Regions from separate parts of the Homo sapiens genome. Here region 1 is linked to region 2. The links are contacts of gene promoters, found by promoter capture Hi-C in blood cells and fetal thymus (Javierre and others, 2016). All regions are on one chromosome and are shown on one strand. The core of a region is centred on a gene start or on the middle of the fragment in contact, and the rest is flanking DNA. Distances in the headings are between cores, read along the strand shown. Region 1 overlaps VPS13D (vacuolar protein sorting 13 homolog D). Region 2 holds the start of AADACL3 (arylacetamide deacetylase like 3).

Region 1 (4,875 bases), core at 119-2,618, 450 kb after region 2:
ACACAAATGTTTTGGTTTCCCAGTGCATAGAAAAGTGATGTTGACACTATACAGTAGTGTACTGAGTGTGCAATAGCATTATGCCTGAAACTACAATATAGATACCTTAATTTTAAAATATTTTATTGCTAGAAAGTGCTAACAATCCTGTGAATCTTCAGCAAGTTGTAATCTTTTTGCTGATGGAAGGCCTTGCCTACATGATGATGCCTGCTGACTGATCAAGGCGTGGTTGCTGAAGTGTTGGGGTGACTGTGGTGATTTCTTAAAATAAGACAACAACGAAGTTTGCTACATCAACTGACTCTTCCTTTCACAGAAGATTTCTCTGTAGCAGGTGATGCTGTTTGATAAAGCATGTATTTAACCACAGTAGAATTTCTTTCAAAACCACAGTCAATCCTCTCAAACCCTGCCATTAGCAACTAAGTTGATTTAGTATCCTAAAAACTTTATTGTCATTTCCTTTTTTATTTTGTTTTCTTTTTTGAGACAAGGTCTTGCTTTGTCACCCAGGCTGGAGTGCAGTGGTGCAATCATAGCTCACTGTAACTTCAAAGTCCTGGGCTCAAGGGATCCTCCTACCTCTCAGTCTGCCACGTAGCTAGGACTACAGGAGCATGTCACCATGACCAACTAATTTTTTTTTTAATTTTTAGTAGAGATAGGGTCTTGCTATGTTGCCCAGGCTGGTTGTGAACTCCTGGCCTGAAATGATCCTCCTGCCTTGGCCTCCCGAAGTGCTGGGATTACAGGCGTGAGCCACCACGCCCAGCCTTGGGTTGTCATTTCAACAGTGTTCATAGTATCTTCACCAGGAGTAGATTCCATCTCAAGAAACTACCTTCTTTGCTCATCTGTAAGAAATAACTCTTTATCCATTCAAGTTTGATCATGAGATTCCAGCAATTCAGTCACATCTTCAGGTTCCACTTCTAATTCTAGTTCTCTTGCTATTTACCCCACATTTGCAGTTACTTCCTCCACTTAAGTCTTGAATCCCTCAAAGTCATCCAAGAGGGTTGATTTCTTCCAAACTCCTGTTAATGCTGATATTTTGACCTCCTTCCACGAATTACAAATGTTCTTCATGGCATCTAGAATGGTGAATCTTTTCCCGAAGCTTTTCTATATACTTTACCTAGGTCCATCAGAGGAATCACTATTTATGGCAGCTACAGCCTATGCAATGTATTTCTTGAATAATAAAAGTTGAGGCTGGGAGTGGTAACTCACACCTGCAATCCCAGCACTTTGGGGGCTGAAGCAGGAGGATCGTTTGAGGCCAGGAGTTTGAGACCACCCTGGCCAAAAAAGTGAGAGCTCATCTCTGAATAAATTAAGCAATTAATTAAAGAAACAAACAAACTTGAATGTTGAAATTACTCCTGGATCCATGGGCTGCAGAATGGATGTTGTGTTAGCAGGCATGAAAACAACACTAATTTCTTTATACTTCTCCCAGCAGAGCTCTTGAGTGACTGGATGCATTATCCACGAGCAGTAATATTTTGAAAGGAATCTTTTTTTCTGAGCAGTAGGTCTCAATAGTGGCCTTAAAATCTTCTGTAAACCATGCTGTAAACAGATGTACTGGCATCATCCAAGCTTTGTTGCTCCATTGATAGAACACAAGCAGAGGAGATTGAGCATAATTCTTAAGGGCCCTGGGATTTTCAGAAAGGTAAATCAGCAACTTAAAGTCACCAGCTGCACTGGCCCCTAACAAGAGAGTCAGCCTGTTCTTTGAAGCTTTGAAGCCAGGCATTGACTTCTCCTCTCTAGCTATGAAAAGTCCTAGATGGCATTTTCTTCCAATAGAAGGCCTTTTCATCTACAATGAAAATCTATCATTTAGCATAGCAAGGATCTTAGCTGGATCTTCTGGATAACTTGCTGCAGCTTCCCCATCAGCACTGGCTGCTTCACCTTGCACTTTTATGTTATGGAGATGGCTTCTTTCCTTCAAACTCATGAACCAGCCTCTGCTAGCTTCAAACTTTTCTTCTGCAGTTTCCTCACCTCTTCCAGCCATCCCAGAACTGAAATGAGTTAAGGCCTTGCTGTGCATTAGGCTTTGGCTTAAGGAAAGGCTGTGGCTGCTTTGATCTTCTATCCAGACCAAACTTTCTCCATTGCAGCAGTAAGGCTGCTTTGCTTTCTGATCATTCATGTGTTCGCTGAAGTAGCACTTTTACTAATAATTTCCTTCCAGAACTTTTCCTTTGCATTCACAACTTGGCTAACTGTTTGGCACAAGTGGCCTAGCTTTTGGCCTATCTCAGCTTTCGACGTCTTCCTCACTAAGCTTAATCACGTTTAGCTTTTGATTTAAAGTGAGAGACATGTGACTCTTCCTTTCACCTGAACATTTAGAAGCCATTGTAGGGTTATTAGCCCAATTTCAACATTGTGTCTCAGGTAATAGGGAGGCCCCAGGAGAGGAAAAGAGACAAGGAAATGGCCAGTCGGTGGAGCAGTTGGAACATACACAATATTGACTAAGTTACCATCTTCTATGGGCATGGTTCATAGCACTCCAAAACAAATACAATAATAACATTACAAATTGGTGATTACAGATCACCATAAGAGACAGAATAATAATGGAAAAGTTTGAAATACTGGGCAAATTACTAAAATGTGACACAGAGACACAAAGTGAGCACATGCTGTTGGAAAAATGGCACCTATAGACTTGCTCATTTTTAAACTGTCAATTTGTAAAAAATGTGGTGTCTATGAAGTGCAATAAGGCAAAGTGCAATAAAATCAAGTGTGCCTGTATCTATCCAGCTGTCTAAACACACAAACACCATTAGAAGTTTCCTAGCAGAAGGAATTTTAAATAGTGCCTTTTCAATTCAGTTCAAGTAATCTGCTAGTTAATACTAAGTTTATGACAGCTCAATTTTCTACATTATGAAGTCAAACAAACTGGCTTTTTAAAAAAAATCATTTGTCCTTCAGCCACTCAGGAATCTCAAATAAGCTGCTGTTTTATGGACCGAAATAAAAATATTTGTGAGATGTCCAAACATCTGCATATTTATTTATACACCTTTAATTCAAAGTCACAAAAACATCTGCATATTTATTTATACACCTTTAATTCAAAGTCACAAAAAGAAGGCAAATACTGTCAAGTCAATCCTCATTATTCACAGATTCCATATTTGCACATTTGTTTACTTGCTAAAATTTGTAACTCCAAAATTAATCCTCATGGCACTCTGTCATTCAGACACTCACAGAGCAGAAAAAAATTCAAGCCACCTGATATGCACATTCCCACCTGAGTTCAAACATGGCAACGCTCTGCCTCCTCATTTCAGCTCTCACACTGTGAACAAGCATCCCTCCCATGGTCTTCTATTTGGCGCCATGTTTTTCATGCTTCTGTGCTTTTTGTTTGTGGTTTCACTGTTTAAAACAAGCCCCTAGTGCTAAAACGCTGCCTAGTGGTCCTGAGTGCAAGAAGACTGTGATGTGCGTTACAAAAAAAATATGAGTATTAGAGAAACTTCATTCAGGCATGAGGTATAGTGCTATAGGCCATGAGTTCAATGTTAATAAATCAATAACACAATGCTCCTTGACTTAGGATGGAGTTATGATAAACCCACCATAAGTTGAAAATATCATAAATCAGCTGAGCGCAATGGCTCAGGCCTGTAATCCTGGCACTTTGGGAACCCGAGGAGGACAGATTGCTTGAGGTCAGGAGTTCAAAACCAGCCTGGCCAACGTAGCGATACCTTGTCTCCACTAAAAATACAAAAATTAGCTGGGCATGGTGGCGCGCGCCTGTAGTCACAGCTACTCAGGAGGCTGAGGCAGGAAAATCGCTTGAACCCAAGAGGCAGAGGTTGCAGTGAGCCAAGATCATGCCACTGCACTGCAGCCTAGGCGACAGAGCAAGACTCTGTCTCAAAAAAAAAAAAAAGAAAGAAAATACAGTAAGTCAAAAATGCATTTCATATACCTAACCTACTGGACATCACAGCTTGGCCTAGCCCACCTTAAAAGTGCTCAGAATACTTACATTAGCCTAAAGGTAGGCAAAATCATCTGGCCACACAGTCCACTGTAGACTATTAGCTGCTTACCTCATGACCGCATGGCTGACTGGGAGCTGTGGCTCACTGTTGCTGCCCAGCATCTTCAGAGAATATCATACTACCTATCTCTAGCCCAGGAAAAGATCAAAATTCAAAATCCGAAGTATGACTTCTACTGAATGTGTATAACTCTTGTGCCACTTGTAAAGTTGAAAAATCCAAAGTCAAACTATCCTAAGTCAAGGACTGTCTGTATATCTATATTAAATGTCTTTAAATACAGACACGCATTTTAAAAATTAAGGTTAGGTACTGATCAGTTGATGAATGTTATGACCAGAGGTTCACATGAACCTAACCCAGTATTTCCCCTAAGAGCAATGGTTCCACATTAGCTAATACAGTTTTCGCACTGACTTTCTAGACTATCCCCACAGCAAATAATGAGAATCGCCTGGACATTGGCCCACAGAGAGACAACAGTGGCAGGTAGTTTCTTGGGGGCAGTGTACCTGAAAACTCGAGCTGCATGAAAGCACTTTCATTCATTTGAGGAGTTCCTTGCTCCTTGTGTAACAGAGTCACTGTACCTCGCTGCAACTGCAAATTCAGTTTGGCAAAGACATGATCTCGCTTTGTATACGTGTTCATACACGAGGCATCTGCAGTGGGGTCAAAAAACTCCTCAGTGCCTAAATGGTAAGGGAGAAAAGACTGTAAGAAAAAACGTGGAAGAATAAAAAAGCACCAGCAAGCAGACTGATCACAGTTATGATGATGTTATTTAACTATTTTTCCCTTTGTTAAGAAAGAA
Region 2 (5,603 bases), core at 1,660-4,159:
GAGTTCATATCTTTTGAAAATGCCTACTGAAAATTTTTAGGATAAAATAATATGATGTCCATTGGCTTCTTAAATAAATGAAAATGAGGGAAAAGTTAGAGACATTTAGGGACACAGGGAAGGGAGACAGGCCAGGAGTCAGTGATGGTGACACTGGAGAGTGGGCACCCTGTTCCCCTTTGGTATATGTCAAAGTTTGCATAAAGGGTTGAAAATACAGCCAGGCACAGTGGCTGATACCTGTAATCCCAGCACTTTGGGAGGCCAAGGCTGGTGGGTCACTTGAGGTCAGGAGTTCAAGGCCAGCCTGGCCAACATGGTGAAACCCAGTCTCTACTGAAAATACAAAAATTAGCCGGGTGGGTGTGGTGGTGGGCTCCTGTATTCCCGGCTACTCGAGAGGCTGAGGCAGAAGAATCTCTTGAACCCTAGAGGCAGAGGTTGCAGTAAGCCGAGATCATGCCATTGCACTCCAGCCTGGGCAACAAGAGTAAAACTCCAGCTCAAAAAAAAAGAGTTAAAAATACGTAAATAAAGAGGGCTCTCCCTCTGGGTATCCTTTCCAGTGTTTCCTAATCCTTGTCTGTGCCACAGCCATTTTGGCCTTGGGAAAAGCTGCAGGCCTCATTTGAGAACTTTTTTTTTTTTTTTTTTTTTTTGGAGAGAAGAGGCCTCATTATGTCACCCAGGCTGGTCTCAAACTCCTGGACTCAAACAGTCCTCCCACCTCAGCCTCCCAAAGTGCTGGGATTACAGGTGTAAGCCACTACACCCAGCCCAGAACATTTTTAAATACATAAAATAAATACATGGGATTATAAAGAAAAGCAGTGTTATTTAAATATACTTATCAAAATATTAAAATGTATGTCATAATAATATAGGTTCTTCCTTACTAGCACATAGAGTAATAAGATCTAACTGCTGCCTGATACTACCCTAGTTTCAAAGAAATGAGGAGAATACATGAGTTTTCGCAATATCTAATAGGCAATGCAAATATGTCTGATTTCTCTTGGTGAAAAGTCGAGGTCTGGCTTTCAGGACTGTGGTTTGTTGCCTTCATTCCTCATGAGAAGAATTTCAATTGGAAGTTAGTTGTGAACATGGGGTAATTTTGACCCCATCCAAATCCATGACCCCCTTGTGTTCTGTGACCCAAATCCATGACCCCCTTATGTTCTGTGATCCAAATCCATGACCCCCTTGTGTTCTGTGGCCCCGGGGGCTCAAGATGCCCCAGGAGAGAAGCCCTGCTCGGCTCCCCTGACGGGTTTTGCTGTCCTCCTTGCATTCTCCGCTTTGGGAAGCTGTTTATCTGTAGCTTGTTCTATTGTGGGTTAGCTTCTTTATAGACCACTTCCCCGCTGCCCACTGCCTGGACCCTACAAGCTCCCTAAAGGCAGACCTGTGGAACTTTACCTCTCTCACCTGTCATTGGCCCTAGAGCCCAGGACTGGCGTAGGACACACAGCAGTTGCATAACACATCTTTGCATAAAAAATAAAAGAATCAACAAAGAGTAACAATGGCTACTATTTAAGGAGGGCTCCCTCTGTGTCAGGCATTATAATAAGCCTTCTGGAGAGGGTTATTCATGGAGTCTCCACAAAACCCTGTGAAGTAGGAGCAATTTTCCCTACTTTGCAAAAGAGGAAATCGAGTCACTGTATTTGGGAGCCTGGACTACAGAATCTGAGCATCAAGGGTAGGAAAACCTAGGACCCAATCACTGCATCTTATAAAAGCTGACTGGAGATCAGAAGCCTAGAGTTCCCGGGATCTTCTCTTTTAGGTAATAGCTACATTCTTTTGAATAGCATAGAAATTATTTTGAATAGCATAGAAGACACACCTAGGGTGTCTCTTGAGAAGAGGCACTGGCAATTGCTTTTCGTTATGTAAGAAACTTACAAAAAATATTTTGTATATTCAGTTTCTGTCAAGGCACAAGAAAAAGTACAAGAAATCCGTATTGGCAACACCTACACAGTTCCATTTACAGGTATTTTAACAAATTACACCAGAAGCAGAACCAAACTATATTCCCTAGGCAGCTTTCTAGCTCTCAAAAGCAACAACATATTTTTAAAGTCACATTCTGTAATTTTGCTCACCGGCACTAATCTACTCATCCGCTACCCTTTTACTTTGTGGCTTGCTGGCTCTAGCTAACAGGTAGATAGCAGTGGGGGCCCAGAGACTCAGGAAAATTCATTCATATCTTCACAACTTCTGAGAGTGGTGAGTGCTGTGAATAATATGGACACATTTATGGACACGTGAAAGGTACACTTAAAAATGCGAAAGATGGTAAATTTTATATGCATATTTTACCTCAATTTTAAAAATAAAACAAACCAACAACAACAAAAAGAAAGTCAGCGGGAGACACTCAGGTGAATAGAACCAGACTGGTTTTTTCTTTCTGTTAACTGAGAAAGCAGATCATTCTTTGAATTTTGTGAATATTAGCCAGGGCCAGCTTCAGAAACACCCAAAGAGGCTGAGAACCACCTAATAGGGATTATGCACATTTCAGAAGGTCTGATCAGCTGTCACTGCAGGCCCCATGATACCGGTGTTCATTCAGCTAGAAGCTTCCGGTGTGTGATTTTTCCTGCCGCCTTCCTTAATGGTCAGCTGGAGGGGACACATAAAGCACAAAACTCACCCAAGTCAACAGCAGCTGGAAGATGCAATGGAGGACTCTCAGTTTCACAGGGTGGCCAACCGCTGCAGGGATGTGCACAGTGAAAAAATGGCTGCAAATGACCCACAGAGTGACCCCTAGTGAGAACACGCAGGCTGCTGCGAGGAAGATCAGGGCCAGGTCCCACATGCTGCTTCCAGCTCAGAGCGGGCTGAGAGGAAGCTGTGCGCAGTGTAAACCATTTAGGACATGGTTCAGAGCCAGCAGACCTCCTCCACTTATAAGTCACACCTGTCCTCCCCCACCTCCCTGGGTCCCACAAACACTGGCCCAGCCCAGGTGAGTCACAGGCTCAGGTGAGGATGTGGTTCTAGGACAGGGCCCATGCAGAGAAGAAAGTGGCCCATCCAGCCGGATCCAGCCACAAAAGAAAGTTCTAGAGTCCCAGCTTACAATCTGGCACTGCTAACTAGAAATAGTCTTGGATAAGCCACCAAGTCACAATGGACATCATAAACACGATTCCTCCCACCGGCCCTCGGACCTCATCCCCCCACTCTGTGATTCAACTCCAGCTTATCATCCATCCATCAGCCTGTGGAGGATGTCCCAGAGCTGTTGTACGGCAAGCCATTCTCTGTACACCATTCTTCCCCTAGACCTCGGCTAGACTCCATGCCTCCCCTCTTGCTGGTCTCTGCTCAAATGTTGCCTTCTCAGTGAGGCCATCCCTGGCAATCTTATTTAAAATTTAACTCCCGCCAGCATGCCTACGCCCACCTTCCCCAGCCCCACCTTCCCCATCCCCCACCCTTTCCACCCCCCCACCTTCCACATCCCCCACCTTCCTCATCCTCCACCTTCCCCATCCCCCATCTTCCCCATCCCCCACCTTCCTCACCCCCCCACTGCTTGGTTTTTCCCTGTGACCTTTATCATCACCTGCCTCACTTGTCTGTTTATTGTCTGGGAGGACAGGAATTTTCTTTTTGTGCCATTTTATCACCAGAGGCTGGATTGGGGCTTGGTACTTTGTAGGTGCTCAGCAAATGCCTATGGAGTGAGAGAATGAATAGACAGGCTTTGTCCTCTTTCTTGCAAATCTGGGAAACTGTGCTTGCTTTCCTCTTTCTTGCAAATCTGGGAAACTGTGCTTGCTTGCCTTTCCAGGTCAGGTCAGAGGTTGATGTCACCATTGGAAATCTTCCCTAACAACCAAGTCCCACATCTGCAGTAACAATAGTAATATCTGCTGTGTCTCCCGCCTCCCAGCTTGAGTGAGAGAGCAGTGGTTCTCAGACAGGAGAGATTTTACCTCCCAGAAGATATGGGAATATCAGAAACATTTTTGTTGTCCCCACTCAGGAAGGGCCAGAGGGCTGGTTCTAGAGTGTCATAGACAAGAGGCCAGGGATATTGCCAAACATCCTGCAATGCACAAAGACTTATGCAGTCCAGCAAGCCGATAGTATGGTGGTTGAGAAACCCTGCATTTGCAACACTTGAATTTGAATCCTGGCTCTGCCAAATGCCAGCATGCTGATCATGAGCACGTTATGTGCAATCAGCCTCAGTTTCCAAGTTTGTCAAATGGGGATAATAATAGTACTCCCCACTCCATAGGACTGTTGGCTGCCTCAAGAACACCAGCCTGTGTCAAGCACTAGTATGAGTCTGGCACGTGGGAAGACTTAATTAGATGTCAGGAAGCCAGCCTGAAGCATTCTTTCTTTCTTTCTTTTTTTTTTTTTCTGAGATGGGGTCTCATGCTGTCACCCAGGCTGGAGTGCAGTGGTGCAATCTTGGCTCACTGCAGCCTCCATCTCCCAGGCTCAAGTAATCTTCCCACCTCGGCCTCTGGAGTAGCTGGGACTACAGGTGTGCACCACCATGCATGCCCATCTAATTTTTATTTTTATTGATTTATTTGTGTGTGTGTGTGAGAGAGAGAGACTGAGTCTCTCTCTGTCACCCAACCTGGAGTGCAATGGCACAATCTCAGCTCATTGCGACCTCCGCCTCCCGGGTTCAAGCAATTCTCCTGCCTCAGCCTCCCGAATAGCTAGGACTACAGGTGTGTGACACCATGCCAGCTAATTTTTTTTGTATTTTTAGTTATTTTTTATTTTGTTATTTTAGTAGAGATGGGTTTTCACCATGTTGGCCAAGCTGGTCACGAACTCCTGACCTCAGGTGATCCACCCGCTTTGGCCTCCCAAAGTGCTGGGTGTCACGCGTGTCTGTGTAAAGAGACCACCAAACAGACTTTGTGTGAGCAACAAGGCTGTTTATTTCACCTGGGTGCAGGCAGTCTGAGTCCGAAAAGAGAGTCAGCGAAGAGAGATGGGGTGGAGTTGTTTTATAGGATTTGGGTGAGTAGTGGAAAATTACAGTCAAAGGGGGTTTTTCTCTTACGGGCAGGGGCGGGGGTCACAAGGTGCTCAGTGGGGGAGGTTCTGAGCCAGGAGAAGGTTTCACAAGGTTAATGGCTCAGTTAAGGTGGGGCAGGAACAAATCACAATGGTGGAATGTCATCAGTTAAGGCAGGAAGCAGCCATTTTCACTTCTTTTGTGATTCTTCACTTGCTTCAGGCCATCTGGATGTATACATGCAGGTTTGGGCTCAGAGGCCTGACATTCCTGTCTTCTTATATTAATAAGAAAAATAAAACAAAATAGTGTTGAAGTGTTGGGGCAGTGAAAAATTTTCGGGGTACTATGGAGAGATAATGGGTGATGTTTCTCAGGGCTGCTTCGAGGGGGATTAGGGGCAGCATGGGAACTTAGAGTGGGAGAGATTAAGCTGACAGAAGATTTTGTGGTAAAGGGCAATATTGTGGGGTTGTTAAAGGGAGCATTTGTCATATAGAATGATTGGTGATGGCCTGGATATGGTCAGGAAAGGTAAAACGGACTAATGGTCTTTTCCCAAAAACTCACCAACCAAGCA

The links. The method cuts DNA at HindIII sites, captures the fragments that hold promoters and counts their contacts. A CHiCAGO score of 5 or more calls a contact.
Region 1: a contact is called between a fragment that was not itself captured here and the fragment with the promoter of AADACL3 in region 2, in 1 of 17 cell types (fetal thymus). The highest score is 6.0, in fetal thymus.

Annotation. Positions count from the first base shown.
Region 1 is chr1:12,261,779-12,266,653 of GRCh38, reverse strand. It overlaps VPS13D (vacuolar protein sorting 13 homolog D), which reads right to left. Exons shown (of 70, transcript NM_015378.4): 13 at 4,574-4,753. Among named protein-coding and RNA genes, the nearest start is that of VPS13D, 34 kb to the right of the region's middle. The HindIII fragment of the contact is 485 bases long and covers 1,126-1,610 here.
Region 2 is chr1:12,713,416-12,719,018 of GRCh38, reverse strand. It overlaps AADACL3 (arylacetamide deacetylase like 3), which reads right to left and starts at 2,909. Exons shown (of 4, transcript NM_001103170.3): 1 at 2,675-2,909. The coding sequence starts at 2,842. RefSeq lists an enhancer at 2,235-3,434. The HindIII fragment of the contact is 3,124 bases long and covers 2,603-5,603 here.